Linked DNA regions of Homo sapiens: all the other regions are linked to region 3. Evidence: promoter capture Hi-C in 16 types of primary human blood cells and fetal thymus (Javierre and others, 2016). All regions are on one chromosome and are shown on one strand. The core of a region is centred on a gene start or on the middle of the fragment in contact, and the rest is flanking DNA. Distances in the headings are between cores, read along the strand shown. Region 1 overlaps INCENP (inner centromere protein). Region 2 overlaps LINC02733 (long intergenic non-protein coding RNA 2733). Region 3 holds the start of TMEM258 (transmembrane protein 258).

The links. Contacts are between HindIII fragments. The CHiCAGO score rates a contact against its expected background, and 5 or more counts as called.
Region 1: a fragment that was not itself captured here is called in contact with the fragment with the promoter of TMEM258 in region 3 in 1 of 17 cell types (total CD8 T cells); the score reaches 5.4 in total CD8 T cells.
Region 2: a contact is called between a fragment that was not itself captured here and the fragment with the promoter of TMEM258 in region 3, in 2 of 17 cell types (neutrophils and monocytes). The highest score is 9.4, in neutrophils.

Annotation. Positions count from the first base shown.
Region 1 is chr11:62,132,978-62,135,677 of GRCh38, forward strand. All of the region lies in intron 4 of INCENP (inner centromere protein), which reads left to right. Among named protein-coding and RNA genes, the nearest start is that of INCENP, 10 kb to the left of the region's middle. The HindIII fragment of the contact is 213 bases long and covers 1,230-1,442 here.
Region 2 is chr11:62,064,489-62,067,188 of GRCh38, forward strand. All of the region lies in intron 1 of LINC02733 (long intergenic non-protein coding RNA 2733), which reads right to left. Among named protein-coding and RNA genes, the nearest start is that of LINC02733, 16 kb to the right of the region's middle. The HindIII fragment of the contact is 8,726 bases long and covers 1-2,700 here.
Region 3 is chr11:61,791,252-61,793,951 of GRCh38, forward strand. TMEM258 (transmembrane protein 258) reads right to left here and starts at 1,348. Exons shown (of 4, transcript NM_014206.4): 1 at 1,305-1,348. The coding sequence starts at 1,307. FEN1 (flap structure-specific endonuclease 1) reads left to right here and starts at 1,660. Exons shown (of 2, transcript NM_004111.6): 1 at 1,660-1,777. MIR611 (microRNA 611) reads right to left here and starts at 1,310; the gene lies at 1,244-1,310. RefSeq lists enhancers at 596-1,573, 1,366-1,660, 1,574-2,549. The HindIII fragment of the contact is 6,270 bases long and covers 1-1,740 here.

The DNA.
Region 1 (2,700 bases), core at 86-2,585, 340 kb after region 3:
CTCAGTACATCTTATTTGAGAAAACTCACCAATGGCTGATGCTCAGTTTGGGTGCGACAAGGCCGACCCCTAGTGAGGAGCTGCAAGGGTGTCAGGGAGTGGGGCGGTGACAGGGGAGGAGGCTTCCTGGGGGTCTTCCTGATACCAGGCTCTGGGAGAGGCTCTCGGGCAGCTCCAAGGTGGGGTCTTGGTTTGGGTGTTCCCCACGAGCAGCCCTTGACACAAGGATTTGAGTTCAATTTGTTAATTTTTGGGAAATTAACAAATTTAATTTCCCAAAAATTAAATTCGGGATGGGAAGGAAACACCTGCACCAGAGGAATGGAAAAATGAGATAGGAAAAAAAGCCAGCAGTCAGCGTGGGTGGAGGGGGCTTCTGGAAGCCAGAGTGTGGCCCCGGGGCGTGGAACTGCTGTGTGTCAGCAGGAATCCCCTGCCTCCTGGCCTGGTGCGCACGTGCCTGCGGGGCCCATCGGGCAGCAGTTCTGAAGTGGATAGGAAGGGACAGGCCCACTGCCTCAGGACTCCACCTTGGGGCGTTCGAGCCACCTCTGCATTGGAGAACAGTCCTTCCATCCCTCTGCCAGTGCTTAGGCCACTTCCCTACCACCAGACCAGCTCTGAGGCCTGAATGTCGTGCAGATGGCACTTAGCATTCCAGAGAATGCTTGTGCTGGTGGGAGAGCCATGTAGTCACATGGGCGTCTTCATCAGGGAGCACGTGAGCTGGGATGACACAGCATGGGGAGATGAGGAGGATGTATCTTCTGGGTATAAACCCCTTAAATGGGGGTCATCACCACCCATGACTGTCAGCCCGGCGCTGCAGCTGCTCCCACCACCTCCCCAAACCTGGCTGCTATACCCAGGAAGGGTCCTGGCTTCCCTTCTCTGTGCCTGGCCTGCTGTCTTCCCTCTTTTCCTGAGACCCTGTGCACCCCAACCTCCCGCTGGCCACCTCCCAGCCTGAACTCTGACCAAGCCCCCATGGCTCAGGATGCGCCAGCTCAGCTACCTTCTCTCTGTTCCCCAAAAAAGCCTCTTTTTTTCCTGCCTCATGGCCTTGGCCCTCCTTCTCCCTAGACCAGTGGCACTGGGAACAGGCATGCTCCCAGCTAGGAAGAAGCCGGGGACATAAAGCTAGCAGCTGTGGTGAGGATACCAGGGTGAGTGCTGAGGGTGAGGGACCTGGGCTTCCTGTTTTTAATGATTAAGCCTCAGCCTCAAAAAGCTTTTGACAGCCTGGACAACATGGCCAGACCCTATCTCTACCAAAATGGAAAAAATTAGCCAGGTATGGTGGCATGTGCCTGTAGTCCCAGCTACTCAGGAGGCTGAGGTGGGAGGATTGCTTGAACCCAGGAGGTCGAGGCTGCACTGAGCTGAGATTGTGCCACTGCACTCCAGACAGAGTGAGACTCTGTTAAAAAAAAAAAAAAAAAAGCTTTGATTATGAGGTTATATCTATTGATCGTTACTGTATTAAAAATTAAAACTGAGGAGTTTAAAAGTATTTTAAATATTAATATTTTTATATGAATATTTAGTACTTTAAAGATTTAAAAATATTGTTTAATATTTTAACATTATAAAATGCAAGTACCAAGCCTATCACCTGTTTACATTAAGACTTTTTATGAAAAAATAACTTTTCCAAAACAAAAATGTACTGAAGACACTGGCATTATTCTACATTTTGCAAATCTCTTTATTGTATGACTTTAAATAAGCCACATTCTGCGTTTGATCTGTTGTTGCATTGTGTTGTTTGGGTTAAAGTAACTGAAGAACTGGACGGGCGAGGTGGCTCACACCTGTAATCCCAGCACATTGGGAGGCCGAGGTGGGCAGATCATGAGGTTAAGAGATTGAGACTGTCTTGGCCAACATGGTGAAACCCTGTCTCTACTGAAAATACAAAAAATTATCTGGGCGTGGTGGCACGTGCCTGTAGTCCCAGCTACTCAGGAAGCTGAGGCAGGAGGATTGCTTGAAACCGGGAGGTGGAGGTTACAGTGAGCTGAATTCACGCCACTTCACTCCAGCCTGGGTGATACAGTGAGACTCTGTCTCAAAAAAAAAAAGTAGCTAAAGAACATCTGGCCTCACATAGACGTGTAGTTGGGAAAGGGAGGAGTATCTTCATAGCTTTTTCAGATAATTATGCATATTCTTTGTTATCAGGACCAGCGCAAGAAGTGGTAGTTCTTAAAGGTTTGTTGTGGTGTGGAATCTGAAACCATGTTGCTGATTCCACACGGGTCTACCTTGCACTTTGTTTTGTTTTTTTTTGTTTTGTTTTGTTTTTGAGATGAAATCTCACTCTGTCGCCCAGGCTGGAGTGCAGTGGTGCGATCTCAGCTCACTGCAACCTCTGCCTCCCGGTTCAAGTGATTCTCTTGCCTCAGCCTCCCGAGTAGCTGGGATTACAGGTGCCCACCGACGCCCGGATAATTTTTGTCTTTTCAGTAGAGACGGGGTTTCACCATGTTGCCAGGCTGGTCTCAAACTCCTGACCTCAAATCATCCGTCTGCCTCGGCTTCCCAAAGTGCTGGGATTACAGGCGTGAGCCACCACAACTGGCCACACTTTGAATGGATCTTTTAGATGTGTCTGATTTCATAACCACATACATCGATCATTTCGAAAATATTGTTTCACCAAGTTATGCACGTCTTCCAAGTGTTGACACCCTTCAT
Region 2 (2,700 bases), core at 152-2,651, 270 kb after region 3:
GGGCTAGCTCCTAGACAAAAAGGCAGGAAAATGATTACTGCCTTGGGGAGAAAAAGGAGCAGGTAAAAGGAGGGCAGGAGAAGGTCAGGGAGAGAGATTCTGTTTTCTGAGGCTGGGTCAGAGGCCTAAAACACCCCAATATTATCACAAAAGACTATGACAAGGGCTATGGGAGTTATGAGCCAGAAACCATGGGTGAGAACCAATACATATGTATCATAATGTCACACCAACTAACCAGCTCTGAAGTTTTCACTTTTCCCTGGAGCTTTCTATTTCTTCTGCTATCTTTTTTCCTTTTTTTTTTTTTTTTTTTTTTTTTGAGTTTCACTCTTGTTGCCCAGGCTGGAGTGCAATGGCCTGGTCTTGGCTCACCACAACCTCTGCCTTCTGGGTTCAAGTGATTCTCCTCCTCAGCCTCCGGAGTACCTGGGATTACAGGCACCTGCCACCACGCCTGGCTAATTTTGTATTTTTAGTAGAGATGGGGTTTCTCCATGTTGGTCAAGCTGGTCTCAAACTCCCAACCTCAGAAGATCCACCCACCTCGGCCTCCCAAAGTGCTGGGATTACAGGCATGAGCCACAGCGCCCAGCCTATTTCTTCTGCTTTCTTGTGGGCTATTTCTCCCCCTTGATCTTCTCTTCCAATGTTCCTTCCTCCTTTGCCTGGGAAGGCCCTGATGAACACCACCAGACTTGGATACCCACCTACCGATGGAGCAAATGAAGAGAGGATCAAGGACAAAGCCCTTTAACGTCCCTCCATCTTGGTGCCTCCCTCACCAGCACTCAGACCAGAAGTATCAGGCAGAGAAGAAGCCTTAAAAACTCTTTCCACAGTGTCCAGCCTTGGAGGAATTGGAGAACAGCAGCTAAAGCCTGAATTTGAGGGATAAAGATAAAGTATGGAGAAGGCCGAAATTAAACCCAAATCTGTATCAACTCAGGGCTTTCACAGGCAGCAAAGACCCCTAGATCTATCATGAATCTGAGTCATTGCCTTGTAGCCCCTATCTAGCAGTTGATCTGTTGATATTTCCATTCTTCATTCAATTTCAACTTACAAGGGGACTTCTCTCACACCAGCACTCCACAAACTGTTGTGGGTGATGCCAAGACACCAAACGACAACATCCAGCCCTTAGTGAGCTGGTGGTGGGAATGTGAGAAGCACATGGAAGATACATGCTGGTCTCTATGGTTAGTTCAGCATCCAACTGCACACACAGTTGATGCATGCCAGAGGAGTTCAAAGGAAGGTATATTTAGGGACTGTATTAGTGTCCTCTGGGTGCCGTCACAAAGTGCCACAAGCTGGGTGGCTTAAAACAGCAGAGATTTAGGCCGGGCGTGGTGGCTCACACCTGTAATCCCAGCACTTTGGGAGGCCGAGGTGGGTGGATCACCTGAGGTTGGGAGATCGAGACCAGCCTGACCAACACGGAGAAACCCCGTCTCTACTAAAAATACAAAAATTAGCTGGGCATGGTGGCGGGTGCCTGTAATCTGAACTACTCGGGAGGCTGAGGCAGGAGAATTGCTTGAACCTGGGAGGCACAGGTTGTGGTGAGCTGAGATTGCGCCACTGCACTCCAGCCTGGGCAACAAGAGCAAAACTTCATCTCAAAACAAACAAACAAACAAACAAACAAACAAAACAGCACAGATTTATTCTCTCATAGCTTTGAAGGTGAAAAGTCCAAAATTTCCAGGCAAGACTCCTTCCTCAATTAGGAGTCTTCAGCTGTTGGTTGTTGCCAGCTATCCATACCATTCCTTGGCTTTGTAACTGCATCACCCTGATTCTGTCTTCATCTTACATGGCTGTGTTCTTTCTGTGTGTGTCTCTGCCTCTGTGACCAAATTTCTCTCTTCTTACAAAGAAGAAGTTATAGCCCACCTGAATCCAGTATTACCTTATTTTTACTTGGTTACATCTGTAAAGATCCTATTTCTTTTTTTATTTTAACTCAGCTAAAAAAGATCACATTTCCAGGCTGGGCGTGGTGGCTCATGCCTGTAATCCCAACACTACGGGAAGCCAAGGTGGCAGGATCATTTGAGCCCAGGAGTTCGAGACCAGCGTGGGCAACATGGCGAAAGTCTGTCTCTACAAAATAATACAAAAATTAGCCAGGAGTGGTGGTGCGTGCCTATAGTTGCAGCTACTTGGGAAGCTGGAGCAGGAGGATCTCTTGAATCTGGGAGATGGAGAGTGCAGTGAGCCAAGGTTTCGCCACTGCACTCCAGCCTGGGCGACAGAGTGAGTCCCTGTCTCAAAAAAAACTAAAACATAAAAGGAAAGAAAAGATCTTATTTTTTTTAATTTTTATATTTTTTGAGACAGCATCTCGCTCTGTCGCCCAGGCTGGAGTGCAATGGCATGATCTCGGCTCACTGCAACCTCCACCTCCTGGGTTCAAGCGATTCTCCTGCCTCAGCCTCCCGAGTAGCTGGGACTACAGGCACCCGCCACCACGCCCAGCTAATTTTTATACTTTTAATAGAGACGGGGTTTCATCATGTTGGCCAGGATGGTCTCAATCTCTTGACCTTGTGATCCACCCGCCTTGGCCTCCCAAAGTGCTGGGATTACAGGCGTGAGCCACCGCGCCCAGCCAGAAAAGATCTTATTTTTAAATAAAATCATGTTCACAGGGACTGGGGTTAGGACTTGAATATATCTTTTGAGGGGACA
Region 3 (2,700 bases), core at 98-2,597:
AGGCTCAATTTTTTTTTTTTTCCAGACAGTCTTGCTCTATCGCCCAGGCTGGAGTGCCTGGAGTGCAGTGGTGCCAACTCGGCTCACTGCAAGCTCCGCCTTCTGGGTTCAAGTGATTATCCTGCCTCAGCCTCCCGAGCAGCTGGGATTACAGGCGTGAACCACCATGCCCGGCTAATTTTTTGTATTTTTAGGAGAGACAGGGTTTCACCTTGCTGGCCAGGCTGGTCTTGAACTTCTGACCTCCTGATCCGCTCGCCTCAGCCTCCCAAAGTGCTGGGATTACAGGAGTGAACCACCGCGCCTGGCCCTCAATTTCTAATTCAGTATTTTCCTCACTACCTATGCTATTATGGAATCTTGTGAGCTATGGTCAAGACATTCAAGTTCTGGTTCTGAGTAATCTGAGTCTGAGTAAAGCGACTGTAATATCTATTTCACAGAACTGAAAAATAAGAAAGATGATGAATCAAAGCATCTAGTGCCTAGCAGGGAGTATTTTGCTCAACAGGTATTTGCTTCCTTCCTAAGGCTGTAGGGAAGATGATGAGATAATGTCTTTTATGAAAGAGGGCTGTAAACGTAAAGATCTGTACAAATGTTAACTTCATTGTCACCGGTCAGCCAATGCTTCTAAAATCCAGAACATAACAACTCTAGAGAAGTAAACTGCCCCCATTGTTCTGAGACACTGGAATTCAATTCAGTAAACAATCACGGCCCCCTTCCCCCAAAATGATAAAGACAATCACTGCCATTTATTGAGCTTCCAATTACGGGCCCTCTGTTTGGCACTGAGAATACAAAGATGAATAGACATCATCCCAGAGCTAGATGCGCGTCAGACGGTGGTCACTAGGAGGCGTGGCCGAAAACAAAGAAGTCCATGGAACGTGGCCAGAGATCTGTACAGAGGCTGTGGGCGCTCCTAGGAAAGTCTGGCCAAGTGCCTGAGAGTTGGAAGTGCTTCACCAATAAACATTTGCCCAGGGCATTGTAGGATGGGCACGGGTTCGGCAGAAGAACTTTCCAAATAAAGATAACACACCACCGATAACAGAGATATACAAACTGGAAGGTATTCAAAATTCGCCCCACGCCTCTCGCCCTTAGAAATCGCGAGCTGAGAAACCTAAGGAGTTCATGGCAAGGGGCTTCCCCCTTCCCCACCCTTCAGCCCAAGCCGGAGGTTCCAGGAGCGTCTAGCCCTCTGGATCTCCGGCGTCTGAGGAGATAAGCGCGGTGTGGGTCAGACCCCGAGGGGTCCTCGCATCTCCGTCTGGAACTCCCCTCAACGCTCTCACCATTTTGCCCCGCGAAGGCTAATCCGCCGCTCCGCCACCGGAAGAACACGTCGGCAGGAGCAGGCGCCTAGCACAACCGGAAAAGGAAGTGCCTCCGGCGCAAGTGGCATTGAGGGACTTGTAGTCCTGCGATTTCGGGTGTAGAGGGAGCAGGGGCCTGCGGGGACCTGGTGTGGGTGGAGTGGGGACAAGCGGTGGAGAAGGGTACGCCAGGGTCGCTGAGAGACTCTGTTCTCCCTGGAGGGACTGGTTGCCATGAGAGCAGCCGTCTGAGGGGACGCAGCCTGCACTACGCGCCCCAAGAGGCTGTGCGTGGCGAGCAGGTCACGTGACGGGAGCGCGGGCTTTGGAAGGCGGCTGAACGTCAGGCCACCCGCCGCTAAGCTGAGAAGGGAGAGCGAGCTTAGGACCGCCTGCCCGGGGCAACCCCGAACCAAGCTTTAGCCGCCGAGGCCGCGTGTCCCAAAGGCCAGGTGAGACCCCATGGGAAGCGCCTCCGGGAGCGACGGGGTCCGCTTGGCGCTGGGGGCCGTGGGGAGCCGGGGTCTGGAGTGCGCGGGATTCGCAGTCAAGAGGTCCCGCCACTTTTCCCCCTGTGAGCCTTGGGCCAGTCGCGTAAGCTCCGAGCCTCTCTTTCCTCCATTGTAGAAAAGCGGTAATAAGTTCCACCTTATGGGGTCGTGTTGTATTTTTCCTAAGACCTTGGACGAGAAACATTTCTGACACTTGAGTTGTTTAGGCCCCTTTCCTGCCTACCTGTCTGTGGGACGCCGTGAGGGGATCAAGGGCTACATGGTCTGGTCCTCAGTCCACACTCCAGCAGCGCGGCCGGCTTGAGGCAAGAGCCGAAGGGTTGAACAGGCCTGGAGAGGGGACATTAGAGGTTTCTGTCTGTTGTCTCAGTTAACCCTGGCAGCAGCCCTGAGAGACAGGCATGGTAATCGTTCTTCTTCTGTAGACGAGAAAATAAACCTCAGTGGCTTGGTAATGTCACACGGATGGTAAATGCCGCGCCTAGATTCAAGGCCAGAGCTTTTGCCGCTGCAGTTCACAGGGGAATTATTCATATTAATCAAATGAATAATTCATTGTCAATTAATTATTAATTGATTAATAATCCAGGGATGGACCTGGAAGGACGCGTGAGAGGATGGCGAGAGGAGGGCACAGCTAAGGAAAAGTGGGAAAAGGCGGGCCTTATTCCAGCTTTCTGTTGAGATCCCAGAATGTAGGGTTAGGTTGGGAACCAGAACATGAAAGATCGTGATGCCATGCTGAAGTGTTTGGACTGAATTAGAAGGAAGAATTGAACAGTCATTGATGCTCTAGAAAGAACCCTGTGAAGAAAGAGTGGGAACAATGAAAAGGCCTGATGGAGTCTTTCGTTTCTTCTTTC